Linked DNA regions of Homo sapiens: region 1 is linked to region 2. The links are contacts of gene promoters, found by promoter capture Hi-C in human tissues and cell types (Jung and others, 2019). All regions are on one chromosome and are shown on one strand. Each heading gives the region's core, a stretch centred on a gene start or on the middle of the fragment in contact. The rest is flanking DNA. Distances are from core to core; before and after follow the strand shown.

Region 1 (6,794 bases), core at 1,847-4,346, 52 kb after region 2:
TTTTTCTTTTTCCTTTTTTTTTTTTTTTTTTGAGACAGAGTCTCTGTCGCCCAGGTTGGAGTGCAGTGGCACGATCTCGGCTCACTGCAAGCTCCGCCTCCCGGGTTCACGCCATTCTCCTGCCTCAGCCTCCCGAGTAGCTGGGACTACAGGTGCCTGCCACCACGCCCAGCTAATTTTTTGTGTTCTTCGTAAAGATGGGGTTTCACCGTGTTAGCCAGGATGGTTTCCATCTCCTGACCTCGTGATCCGCCCACCTCAGCCTCCCAAAGTGCTGGGATTACAGGCGTGAGCCACTGCTCCCAGCCTTCTTTTTCTTTTTGTAGAGACAGGGTCTCGCCATCTTGTACAGGCTGGTCTCTAACTTCTGGGCTCAAGCAATCCTCCGACCTTGGCCTCCCAAAGTGTTGGGATTACAGGCATGAGCCACTATGCCTAGCCAAAATTTATTTTGTTTTTTACTCTTCCTTTTCTATAGAATTTTTTTTTTTAAATGTTAACCTCACAAAAGTTTTTGAACTCCCATTTGGCACTTTAGGAAGTTATTTAATCCTAAGGTAAAAAATATTTAACTGTTCCCTAGATCCACACTTAATGGATGTATGCAACTACTGAATATATTTACAGCAGCATTTTTCTGTAATAAAGAGTTCAAGGTTGATGAAGAGTTCATTTTTCTGTGATAAAGAGTTCAAGAATAGGCATAACAGACTATTCTTGCCACATTATTATTGTCACAACTATTCACACCCCAAATCTTGCTCAACTTATTTAAAGACCCTTTCTATCTTTTTTCTGTTACTACTCGGTCATCTTTACAGGCTTTTTTTCTCATTATTTGTAAACATTCCTTATTCTCAGCCCAGTTAATAGAATTACTATAATATCTAACCATAAATTTTTATTTTTGCTCCATATATTTCTTCCAAAATAAATTGCAACTTGCCTCATCCCTAAGTCAAGCTATACTCTTCACTCTTGGCAGCTGAAAAACTGAAAGAATGTCTCTGATCATCATTCTCAGTGGATCAGGGCTCTCATCACATAATCCCTATATTTGGGCAATAGATGATTTATCTGAATTTTCTTGAATAATAAAATTATTGTTACAATGGTTCCATCATTTGTATACTTTTCCTAAGAGACTGCTGTGCCCTTCTTTGCTCATTCAGTAACCAATAATACCCATAAGTATTGCTACCACCTAAGTAACCCATGCAGTATTTTTTATTTTATTTATTTATTTATTTATTTATTGAGACATGATCTTGCTCTGTCACCCAGGCTGGCATGCAGTGGCAAGATCTTGGCCCACTGCAACCTCTGACTCCTGGATTCAAACGATTCTCCTGCCTCAGCCTCCAGAGTAGCTGGGATTACAGGTGCCTGCCACCACGCCTGGTTAATTTTTGTATTTTTTCAGTAGAGACAGGGTTTCACCATGTTGGCCAGGCTGTTCTCAAACTCCTGACCTTAAGTGACCCACCTGCCTCAGCCTCCCAAAGTGCTGGGATTACAGGTGTGAGCCACCGTGCCTAGACCTATAAAAAAGTAAAGGAATCTTTCAGGATGGCACGTATGTTTCCAAAGTCAATGAGTTAATCTGGAATGACCATCAGAAGTAGAATTTAGCTTAGGAATCGCGTCTAGCTTAGGAATCGGGTCTTAAAATTCTTACCACTAGGAACATTTATCATTCTTTTTTCTTCCATTCTTAATCTCCCTACTATTGTGATCATTTTTCCCCCTCGCTTATAAGTTTCTAAGCCCCTTATTTTAAGATCTTACCATGTTTTTTGTTTTTCTTCACCCATCTTAAGACTAAAAATCTGCAAGTAGGGCTCACCAAACTTTCTAGTCATATCCAAGAGGAGAAATTTTGTCAAACTTGATACATTCTGCTCTCAGCTCTGTATCATACCACTCATTTTCTTTATTGGTAGTTTCTAACCTCTATTACCTCCTTCATGCCACAATCTAATGCCCTATACTTTCCAGTTACTTCCTGCAATTGGCATGGAAATCTCTCTTTTCCTCGCAGATAATGGACCGTAATGAACATAGTAAACAGTTTAAAACCATTTTAAGGGCGGGGCATAGTGACTCATGCCTGTAATCCCAGCACATTGGGAGGCCAAGGTTGGTGGGTCACTTGAGATCGGGAGTTCGAGACCAGCTTGGCCAATATGGTGAAACCCCGTCTCTAGTAAAAATAGAAAAATCATCCAGGCATGGTGGTGGCACCTGTAGGCCCAAGCTACTCAGGAGGCTGAGGCACAAGAATCCCTGGAACCAGGGAGGCAGAGGTTGCAGTGAGCTGAGATCATGGACTGCACTCCAGCCTGGGAGACAGAAAAAAAAAAAATTAAAAATAAAACCATTTTAAAATGGGGGAAATTATGGCACAGAAAATTATATTGCTTTCATACTATTCTACAGTTTATGCAATAGTTTATGTAATTGTTAGAAGTAAACTACAGGCTTCCTAATTTCCAATACCTGTTTTTGGAAAATAATTTAATAGTTATTGTTTTGCCACTATATTTCATTTTAAGATTATCTTCCATTAATAGTGATACTGTCGTGCTCACTTTGGCAACAGAAATACTAAAATTGGAATGCTACAGAGAAGATTAGCATGGCCCCTGCACAAGGATGACACACAAATAGTGATATTGTCCTCCCATTAATGGTAGTAATATAAAGTAACCCTTGAAAGTAATATATTTAAGCTAGGATGTCACTAATTTAAAGAAGATTTAAGTAAATACAAGTAAGAGTGATAGGATATGGCAAAAATTGCGATGATCAAATGATTAAGTCTGGGAAGCATCACTAATTGGGAAACACTGTAAAGTCTGGTGTAAAATGATGGCAGAGGAATGGAGACTCAAGAATCCATTATTCTAGTCGCTGGGTGGTACTTAATGGTACATCCTTTGCCACCTTATGACATAGGAGATCATAAGGGCAAGAGCCAAAGCCTGATTTCCTGCTCTGCTTTAATCCAGCCTATAACTGGGGTCACTGCCTTCTCTGCTGGCTAGCAATTGGAGAAGGACTCCTTTCACAGGCCTGGAACGGCCAGGGAATGTGTGGACAGAAGCAAATCTGAGTAACAGTGTTCACATCCTGTAAAAACCATAACACTGGCTCAAAAAAAGAAACAGACAAGCTTGCCAGGATCGAGGAGAATAGTAATTTTTGCTCTTGGCAAAGCCGTAAGAGGAAAGGCCCACTTGATGGGCTGGGAACGAGGGATGGAGTCTTTTACAAAGATCTGGCCTTAAAGCCTTAACAACAGGGCTGAATTTAGAGAATAAAGCTCATGCTTTTAAGAATTTTTTTTTTTTTGAAACAGGGTCTCGCTCTGTTGCCCAGGCTCAAGTGCTGGGCAGTTGAGATTACTCCATCTTGGCTTACTCCAACCTCGACTTCCCAAGTTGAAGCAATCCTCCTGCCTCAGCCTCCCAAGTAGCTGGTACTATAGGCGCATGACCACACCTGGCTAACTTTTGTAATTTTAATAGAGATGGGGAATCCCTATGCTGTCAAGGCTGGTCTTGAACTCCTAAGCTCAACGGCCTCAGCCTCCCAAAGTACTGGGATAACAGATGTAAGCTACCATGCCCGACAGATACTTTTAAGAATAAATTAGAGGGCCAAAAATTAAGATAACATTTATTAACCCTAGGAAAAAATCTTATAACTTTTATAAGCTTTAATTTCTTCATCTGAATATGAGGAAGATAGTAATAACCAACCTACCTCAGTCCAGCTAATGTGTGTATTGCATGATACAATGCATATAAAATACCAAGTCATGCTAAATGCTCGGTAAATGTGACTTCCCTATAAAGCCAAAAGACTTCAGGTCAATATCTGGACCTTACTAGTTAAGTAACTATGGGTCAGTCTACTTATTTATGGCTCACAATTTTCCAAAATGTACATGAAGCAGATTATTAAAATTCCAAACAATAAAATAGTATGCAGAAAATTTCAGAATCAGGGAAAATATAAATTAGAATAGAAAATTAAGACCAGGAGAGAAAATATAATGTAGATATTCAGACCAATAAGTCCTACAACAGTACTAATGTGTGTTATAGTACAAAATTAGTTGTGGGGTTCCTGTCAACCCAAAAGAAATTTGAAAATGTTCAGTTACAAAATATTCATTCATTCTCCATGAGGAGAAAAAAAAAACACCAAATGCTGGTGGTAAACCTGTGTTGTTTCAGGGCATGTCACTTCAATTATCCAAGCTTTTAAACAAGAAAAGTATTATCTACCTTTCAGGGTAGATGTAGAGAATTACATGAATGACATATATGAAAAAGTATTTCATAAAATTGTTGTACTATGTAAGTGTTACTGATTATTTCATATACCTTAATTTACCCAATAGAGCAGGCTTACCATATGTGTGGACCTTCATTTAAATTACTGGGCTAAAAAAAGAACGTTTATACACTGTTGAAGGGAATGTAAACTAGTACAGCCATTATGGAGAACAGTTTGGAGGTTTCTCAAAAAACTAAAAATAGAGGTACCATACAATCCAGCAATCCCATTGCTGGGTATATACCCAAAAGAAAGGAAATCAATCTATCAAAGAGTTACCTGCACTCCTATGTTTGTTGCAGCACTGTTCACAATAGCCAAGATTTGGAAGCAACCTAAGTGTCCAGCAACAGATGAATGGATAAAGAAAATGTGGTACATATACACAATGGAGTACTATTCAGCCATAAAAAAGCATGAGATCCTGTCATTTACAATAACATGGATGGAATTTGAGGTCATTATGTTAAGTGAAATAAGCCAGGAACAGAAATACAAACATTGTATATTTTCATTTATTTGTGGCATCTAAAAATCAAAACAATGGAACTCATGGAGATGGAGAATACAAGGATAGTTACCAGAGGCTGGGAAGGATAGTGGAGGTTGGGGATAGATGGGGATGGTTAATGGGTACAAAAAATATATATATAAATGGATAAGACCTAGTATTTGATAGCACAATAGGGTGACTATAATCAATAATAATTTAATTATACATTTTAAAATAACTAGAATAGTATAATTGGATTGTTGTAGTACAAAGGATAAATGCTTGAGGGGATGGATATCTCATTTTCCATGATGTGATAATTATGCATTGCATGCCTGTATCAAAATAGCTCATGTGCCCCATAAATATACACACCTACTGTGTATCCACAAATATTAAAAAGTAAAAAACCAGATAAGTAAATAAAATAAATTACTGAGCTAAATCGTTTTTACTATAGGAATACTCAGCATTCCCAGGCACTGTTCTAATAATTTACATATATTCAATTACTACCCTCAATAATAGTAGGTACTATAAATATTTTCATTGCAATGAAGAAATCTGGGTACAAGGAGGTTAAGTAGCATTCCCAAGTTTACTCAGCTAGTAGGTGGTGGTGCTAAGTTTGATATCCAGGAAATCTGGCCCCTGAGACCATCCTGGTGTACAAATACAATGAGGTATAAATGACATATGCTTATAGCCCTCTGTAACTATAAAAGCTGCCAACCTATAAATTAAATATAAGCCTAGCAAGAAAACTAATAAGTGAAAGGTATTAATTTTATGTGACATGCCATATTGTTTTCTCATCACCAGTTGTAGCATGAATTTGATAGCATTATGGTCAGGTTATTAACAGGTCCTGTGAGATGACAATTTCCCATCACTTTTTTTCATTCAAATTACTGGAAACCATTTGTTTATACAGCTTGTTGTGATATGCAGCCTTCCCTTGGTATAAATGTATCATTTACATATTAAGTCAGCTTTCGTTCTTTTCTCAGTAGCTCTCTGATTAAAATAGAATGGCTCACTTCTAACTCAATTACAAACACAAACACAAGAGTAAAATTGCAGGATAACACTTGGCTACAGAGAGGCTATCTAGATGATCCAGGGTCTGCTCATATTGTTTTTTAAGTTACGTTGAAATGAAAATGTAAAATTCTCACAGAGAAGGCCAGGTTCAGTAGCTCATGCCTATAATCCCAGCACTTTGAAAGGCCGAGGCAGGAGGATTTCTGGAAGCCAGGAGTTTAAGACCAGTCTAGGCAACATAGGGAAACCCTGTCTCTACAAAAACATAATAAAATTAGGTTGATGTGCTGGCACATAGTAGTCCCAGCTACTCGGAAGCCTGAAGTGGGAGGATCGCTTGAGCCCAGAAGTTTGAAACTGCAGTGAGCTATAATTCTGCCACTGTACTCCAGCCTGGGCAATAGAGCAAGACCCGGTCAAAAAAAAAAAAAAACTACTCACAGAGAGTTCATAAACATCAGTGTCTCTAGTTTGAGAACTCCCATCACAGAGTACTCTCAAGAAGGCAGACAACCCAACTGCATCTCTGTAATTTGATGGGCAACCCTATTCCAGACTCTGCCAAAGAGGAACCACTGGAGCATCCCCTCTTTCCAGTAAGAGCAAAAAGTCTGTAGGCACCATCTGTATTCTCCTGAGATTCCATCCCTTCCTACCATGTACCTAGGGCTCTTCCAGGCATCCTGAAGCAGGGAGCTCAGCTGGTCTGCGTCCTATTTTGATACTGACTACTGGGGAGAGGAATGGTAAGGAGAGATTTGGCTACAATAAATCTGTTCTGATGATACCGGGTGCCACATGCTGGCTTGGGAAGCCTCAGAAGGGTAGAAGCCTTTTTTGTAAGGGTTCTTTTGCCAACAGCAAATTCCCAGCATCATGTTCAGCTCAGAGTCCCAAACCGTAAAGAGTT
Region 2 (7,706 bases), core at 128-2,627:
TGAAAAGCCTCAAAAGAATTCTGAATAAATTACATTGCCAAAGAAACTCCATCAAAACCTTCAGGTCCAAGCAAACATCAAAAATTCCATCAAAACCATCAGGACCAGGAAACAGGACGTAAGAAGAGTGGCCAATGAGCCAATAAGTAAAACCAAAAGGTTATATATACATAGAAAGCAAGGAAAAGAAAATATCACCAAGGACCGAGTGATGAACTACGTCAAATGCTGAGTCAAGTAAAATGAAGACTAAGCTGACACTGGATTTGGCAACATGGAGGTAGGTCATTTGTAACCTGAAGAACGGCAACAATTTCAGTAGAATGATCGAGGTAAATATCTGACTTACCGTTCAAAAGAGAGGAAGTAGGAACAATGAATTGAATATAAGCACTGTAGAGAAATTTTACTATAAAAGGGAGTAAAGAAATACAGTATTACTAGAAGAAAACATGGTCAAGAGGAAAGTTCGATGGAAAAAAGAACAAGTGTATATGCTGTTATGGATTGCATTGTGTCCTCTCTCCCCAAAAAAGTGTGAGGGAGGGAGGGAGGGAGGGAGGGAGGGAGGAAGGGAAGAGGGGAAGGAAGGAAGGGAGGGAGGGAGGGAGGCAGGCAGGCAGGCAGGCAGGCAACGCTCACTTGGTGCAAAAAAAAAGAACCTGACAAATGCTCCGATGAAGTTCACATAAATACAAAAATAGTCACACGCAATGAATACTCGTATTAGCAAGCAAATATTTAAGGACTTTACATATTTAATTCATTTATCCCTCCTAACAATGCTAGGAAGTGGATGTCAGCATTACTTCGCCCAAGTGCATCCGTCCCTTTCCGCCACCACGACAAATGTTTTCTGGTTTCATCCTTCAAGGATTAACTTACATTCATTTCAAATCCTTTAATGATAAAGTGTACAAAATAGAGGAGAGCGGCAGGGGTTGGCAGGGGACGTAGGGAAAGGATGATTTGCCTTCGATCCTACATCCTGCATAAAAAGCAGCACAACCGCCACGGAGGCAGCCAGGCAGCGGGAAAACTAAGTGCAAAGCCAGGACTCTCCCGAAACCCTCAGGTCCTGCTAAGGGAGCCGCTCCCGAGGCTCCCCGCCCTGTGTACCTGCTGAGACTGTGGGAAGTCGGGTGACTGGGCGGTTTGGCCTTGCTGGCTCTAAGGTGAAAAACTATTTGCCTGAGGAAGATGACAATTCCGAGCCTGCCAGACTTCCTTCGAGACGGAAGCCTGAAAACTCCTCAGACTCCAGCACCTCCCTTTTACAAACTGACGTTTGTGCTGAAAGAAAAGGCCCGGCCTCTGCGCCCCCGGGCGGCAGCAAAGACCGCCGGGCACCCGCCGCCGGCGCCGGATGGGGCCGTTGAAGCCACGTCCCAGGCGCCCGACGCCACGACGCCTTGGCGCCGCCGGCGTCGCTGACGCTGCGAGCGTGAGCTGCGCGCCGAGAGCGGAAGAGGAGACGCAGTTTGGCGGCTGTGGGGATTTGCCGGAAGGTTAATAATGTCCATGGGCACATCGGCCTCCTCCTTTCTTATTCTCTCCCAAGTGTAATTCCAGGACGCCCCCTGAGCGCAGATTCATCCAGGCATTTGGCCTAGAGGCCCGCGGAGGAGAAATAAAGTACAGGCCTGGTAGGACCTTTGAGAACCTGGGCTTCAGCTACAAAACCAGAGCCCCAGTCCTTCATCTGCTGTCTCCTCAAGCTCTTTTCAGTGTATTGTGGAGTTCATTACCACTCTAAGCTCGCACGGAAGTGTACACCAGCTTCGTGATCTTAAAAGCAAAACAAAATCAAATGGACTAGGAATTAACTTGAAGCAGAGTTGTGACACTTAAGTGGTTTCTTGCCATCAGTTTCCACGCACTGCTTTAAGATGCAATTTTACAAGGTAGAGTTTTTTAGATAATTTGACCTCAAGAAATATATTAATTTTGTCTTTAAGTTGAACGAAGTAAAATGTTTTTAATATTTTAAAATATTAATTGATACAATTTAACTGTTAATAATGCCTGTGTGTAAATGAAAGGAATAGGAAAGATGGAACTAAAACTAAAAACCAGGAGGTTTAAAGGAGACCTTAGATTTGACTTAGTAGATTTCAACTATTTTCTAAAACTCTGAAAATTCATTATATCTAATTATTTCTAATTTTCCAGTAAAATCTGAATGCCTCACAAGAGATTCCTGAAAATTTATCAGCTCCCAAGAGCTGGTGTAGGCTAGCTCCATCACACCACTAGGAGTTACCATTGGGGTTGCCTGGAAAGGGAAAACAACACATCTTCTGGTGTACCAGAAATGTTCTGTCTTCTGCTCTTTCTGGGTGTGTTCAAAAATTCATGAAGGCAGGCTGGGCGTGGTGGCTCGCACCTGTAATCCCAGCACTTTGGGAGCCTGAGGCAGTGCATCACTCGAGGTCAGGAGTTCGAGACTAGCCTGGCCAACATGGTGAAACCCCATCTCTACTAAAAATACAAAAATTAGCCGGGCGTGATGGCGGGTGCCTGTAATCCCAGCTACTTAGGAGGCTGAGGCAGGAGAATCACTTGAACCCAGGAGGTGGAGGTTGCAGTGAGCCGAGATTGTGCCATTGCGCTCCAGCCTGGGCAACAGAGCGAGACTCCATCTAAAAAAGAAAAAAAAAAAAAAACATGAAGGCATATGCTTATTTATGCACTTTTCAGTATGTGTGTTTTATGTCAGTAACAAAGAAAATGTACATATAAATGATCAGATTTATTAAGCTTTCCACCAACAATTTTTTATTTTTTAAAGTTGGCAATAAAATTAAGAAAGTAGTTTAGAAAGAATTGAATTGCTAAATTCCAAATCTCCCAAAACCGTTGTAAATGAAAGGGATAGGAAAGATAGAACTAAAAGTCAGGAGAGATTAAAGAAGACCTTAGATTTGACAAAGCCAATTTCAGTTATTTTCTAGAACCCTGAAAATAGATTACATCTAGTCATTTCTAATTTTGTTGGTAAAATCTTAACGGTCAAGTTGTCAAGTTAGCATACATTAGCAAAACTCTCAGCATGAGTCTAGCCAAAAGTTCACCATTCATATCTGTGGCCTTAATAGCACAGCTAAGAACCACAGAAAAGTTATCAGTGCTGACAATGTAAAGCAAAGAAGTTTAAAAAGTTAATAAATTTAAGCATGTAATATCAAATTTTGCAGTGGTTTGAGTCTGTGACATGAATCGATTATTCTTTGAAAACAAACAATACTTATGAATAGAGAGGAACTTTTTCATCTGATGAAGGACATCTGTGAACTATCTCCAGCTAACATCATTTTCAATAGTGAAAAATTGATTTTTCCTTAAGATTGGAAGGAGGCAAGGATATTTGCTCTCACTATGTCTATTCAGTATTATACTGGAGGTCTTAACAAGTGCAATAAGGCAAGAAAAAGAAATAAAGGCATAATGATTTCAATGAAAGAAATAAAGCTGTATTCCCAGACAACATACAATTTCCAGACATCTACAATGAAAACTATATAACATTACTGAGAGAAATTAAAGAAGATCCAAATTAATGGAGATTATGTACCATATTAATGGATTAGAAGACCCAATATTGCTAAAATGTCAACTTTTTAAGTCTATGTCTATCAATATTTATCTACACATTAAATGCGTTTATGATCAAAATCCAAGAAGATTATTTTCTAGAAATTGGGAAAATAATTTTGCAATTTATATGGAAATGAAAAAGGCTAGAGCCAAAACAATCTTGAAAAAAATAAGCAAATATTTAAATGACATATACTACAGGTTTTCAAGAGTTATAAAGTTATAGTAAAATAGTATATTACACGAAGTTAGACAAAAATGGAACAAATAGAGGGTTAAGAAATATATCCACATATATAAAGTCAATTGATTTTAAACAGTGCCAGTGCACTTCAATGGGGAAAGAAAAATCTTTCCAACAATGAAAATGAAAGCTGATATCATTGAGAGAAAAAAAATTATCCATGACCCCTGCCTCGTGCCATACCTGAAAGTTAATTTAAATTAAATCATAGACTTTGTGCCATGGACACATACCATACATATTATCCTTCAAGGGATAATGTGAAGGGTTCTGCTTCCAGCCAAGATGGAGTAACAGCAACTGGGTTTATGTGAAGGGTTCTGCTTCCAGCCAAGATGGAGTAACAGCAACTGGGTTTATCCTCCTGTCTGGAATAAGTAAAGAATCAGACAAAATATATGAAACAATGAATTTTTATACCTCGGTTATCAGATAATGATAATGACCCCTGCATAACAGGAAACAAATTTAAGATGATCCCTATTATTTCCTAAGCTTACTCCCTGAAGACAGGTGGTTCCAAGTCATGATACAAAGAACAGAAAACCCAGGCAGCTTCTAGCGGTCTCTGAGTTGAGGGAAGGAGGTGTCCAGGAAGGCCAAGGAAGCTAGAGTTCAAAGGAGAGAATCCGAGAGAAGAAATTAAAGAACAAAGAGAGCTCCATAAATCTTCAGGGGACCCCTTTAGTCTTCAACTGGGTAATGATCACTGTATACATGTATGAAAACTATCCATGGCCAGGGAAAGAACCACGTGGAAGCATGATAGGATATGACACTCAGTGCCATGATAGGATATGATACTCAGTGCTCAGAATATTTCATGTTACCACCAGCTAGAGTCAAAAGTTTTATAATTTAAGGGGCAGTGAGTAAAGTGCTCAAAAGGGTTTTGCCTCAGGAAGGGTTCAAAAACAGTCTTACACTAAACACTCCTCTGGACCTGTCAAACAAAGCTTAAAAGTAAGATCTGAAAGGATTGAATGTTTCCAGTAACTTAGCTGAGACCCAAAACACAGCTCAAGAATATTTATAGGCATACAAAACCTTCCAGCACTCAATAAGATAAAAAGTTACAGTGATAACTACAAAAAATTGCTGAGAGAAAATAAAAAGACCTAAATAAATGAAGATACACTGTGTTCATGAATCAGAAGATTTAATAATGTTAGGATGTCAGTTCTCCCCAAATTGATCTATAAATCCAATGCAATTCCATTGAAACTACCATCAGGCTTTTGTGAAGCAATTTGCAACCTGACGCTAAAGTTCATTTGGAAATAGGAAGGATCTGCAATAGCCAGAATGACTTTTTAAAAGAAAAACAAAATTGGAGGTATACATTACAAGAAGTATAGTCAGGGAGCATTGAGTGCCCTGGAAATAAAGTCTTGTTTGCATTTATTGGGTATCCCCTTTCCCCCTACCTCCACCAAAATGGCACTCATATTACTCATGAGGCACAGGTTGACCATGCCTCCAACATGGCCTCCCAATCAACAATACACCTTAGGATTCCCAGTTCAGTTTGAATAATTGAGCATCCTTGTTTTTGTAGGTACCACATGATGGAAGTCAGTCCAATCTTTCCTATCCTGTTTCATCCACCACCACAAAATACCTAAGTGACAGCTATGGGACTATCTACAGGCAATACATACAAGCTGTTGACAAGTTTTTGCATGGAAAATGAAGAAGCTGAGACCATTCACTGCTGTTTCTAATAGACTTCTCAGAAAGAATAAGAGAATAGTAATCAAATTGTGGTCAAAGCCATCTAACAGAGGATAACAGACCCAGGAATCAGTTAAATTCAAGGACTTGAAACAGTTTGCAAAAGCTGCAGCAGGGCATTTTCCTTTGTGAGGGAAAGCTCCAGGATCAGTTCTAAAAGACAAAAGAATATTAATACTAATGTCCCTTTATCCCCCAGTGCCTTTCCAAGTGCTTAGGTCTCAGTCTCTCTCTCTCTGTCTCTCTCTCTCTAACACTGCCACAAAATTAATGTGTCCCATTCTAGTAACTATAACCTCTTTCCAATCATGCTTCTAATCTCACCTAAAATTTTCATCTGGAACAGTCAGTCAAGAGCAAGAGTGACAAGGGAATTTTTATAAAACATATAAAAACCCATTATGTCCCTCACTTGTGGCTTTTATGGGTCAGTGTCAGGGGACTAGGTGGAGAGTATCAACCCAAAGCAGGATAGTAAGGGCCTGAATACTAGACATTGCTTCATCTCTGGTTTCCCGTGGCAGGTTCTCTGTCTCAGGAATCTCTTACTGAGAGGGCCAGGTACACTTACAGCAGCCAGCGCCTACTCCAAGAAAACTCGTACTGTCATCTTCAAAAAGATCTAATATTGGCCTGATAGAATTCAGGAGGAGTTGAGCTATAAGAGGTTGCCATTGCTGTTGCCATTCCTCCTTAACAAACATTGTGCACCTCTCTCCCTCATCTCCCAAGCTAACAAGCCAAAGTTCTTAAGATTTGCAAAATTTCTGTCCATAGCAGTCCCAAATCCTCTCCTTTTGCATTTAGAGGTGCATATCTCCGTAACTATTTTCTGAAAAGGATCAGAACCTTACTCTAACCCAGAATGGATCTTAGTTCTCGTTGTTACAATGGGATGGGAGTGACACTGACCATCAGATCGACCCTCCTGCCCCCACCTCAATGAACCTATTTTCCAGTACTCAGCCTGCAGCCATCTCCCTAGTTCCTCCTTGGTAGCAGAGAATGAAAGAGGGGAGGATCACTTATTGCTTGATTGACTAGACAGTTTGAATAATATGGCTGCTACTAAATCCTACAGACTTCCCTCAAATTATCACTGAACTATTGGAAGGCTCTTGTCTTTCTTATTCCAGAAAGCCATGTCTTGTCAGTATTCCATCTTTATTACCAAAAATGGTAAGAATAGTAAGAGTCTGTAATTTTACCTTGCTAGAAAACAAGTTAGCATGGCACAAATTCATAGACACTGGCAGGAGATATGAGATTCCTGGGCCAGGGATAAAGAACAATTTATTAATCAGAGCAATAGCAGTAATCAGAGTAACAACATTTGTGCTAGTTCTTCAAGCCCTGATTCCCACAGAGCACACTCAGTGAGTTGCATTACCCAAGAGCAACCCTATTTAGGAAACCCCAATATTTTCTAAAACCCTTGCTAGAAAACCTTTTCAACCTTTTTCCAGTGGAAGACATTGTCTTTATTATCATGAACAGCCAACAAACCTGCCTTCTTCCCCAAAGGGAGACACTATATTTTCCAAAGCTGTTTGCTATACAGACATTCTTGAAAAGACAGTCTAGAAAAAAGCTACGAATACAATTGCTCAGAAGATATGCAAAAACAGAAGATCTATGGAGAATTATCTCCCAACACCTCCATAAATATATTCACACATAGACCCAAATGTAAAACCTAAATCTATAAAGGTTCTAGAACAAAATATAGGAGTAACTTGAGTTACCTTAACAACCAACAAGGTCAGGGGTGGTCCAGAAAGCTTGACCCACAGGGACAGAGACAGGACTTTGGTGAGGCAAGCAGGGCATCTCCTATGAAAAATCTAAGCACTCACTGTTAGGTGCTGAGCCTGCACTTGCAAAACCTGAGAGTGAGCACCTCCTTAAATTTTTTATTTTCCTAGTTGGGCTTGCCATAATCTCCACACTGCATCCTTTTCCTTCACTGACACAAAATCACAGAGAATGGCAGCTTGTTTTGCTCAAAGCAGCAGTACAGCTTACTTACATCACAACCTGGACCTGCTACATTTTCTGTCCTAAGCCCCATTCAAACCTGGCAGCATTCCATGTCACATTTTATCTGCTGGATTAGCATTTGGAGATACAG

The links. The method cuts DNA at HindIII sites, captures the fragments that hold promoters and counts their contacts. A contact is called where the count stands out against the background at its distance.
Region 1: a contact is called between a fragment that was not itself captured here and the fragment with the promoter of CCDC7 in region 2, in 2 of the 25 tissues and cell types used here (adrenal gland and heart left ventricle).

Annotation. Positions count from the first base shown.
Region 1 is chr10:32,390,455-32,397,248 of GRCh38, reverse strand. It overlaps the pseudogene RNU6-1244P. Among named protein-coding and RNA genes, the nearest start is that of EPC1-AS1, 46 kb to the right of the region's middle. The HindIII fragment of the contact is 6,402 bases long and covers 1-6,297 here.
Region 2 is chr10:32,439,811-32,447,516 of GRCh38, reverse strand. It overlaps CCDC7 (coiled-coil domain containing 7), which reads right to left and starts at 1,377. Exons shown (of 44, transcript NM_001395015.1): 1 at 1,120-1,377. It overlaps LOC101929431 (a long non-coding RNA gene), which reads left to right and starts at 1,461. Exons shown (of 3, transcript NR_120660.1): 1 at 1,461-1,904; 2 at 5,400-7,706. RefSeq lists a silencer at 1,207-1,436 and an enhancer at 1,507-1,826. The HindIII fragment of the contact is 7,178 bases long and covers 1-3,548 here.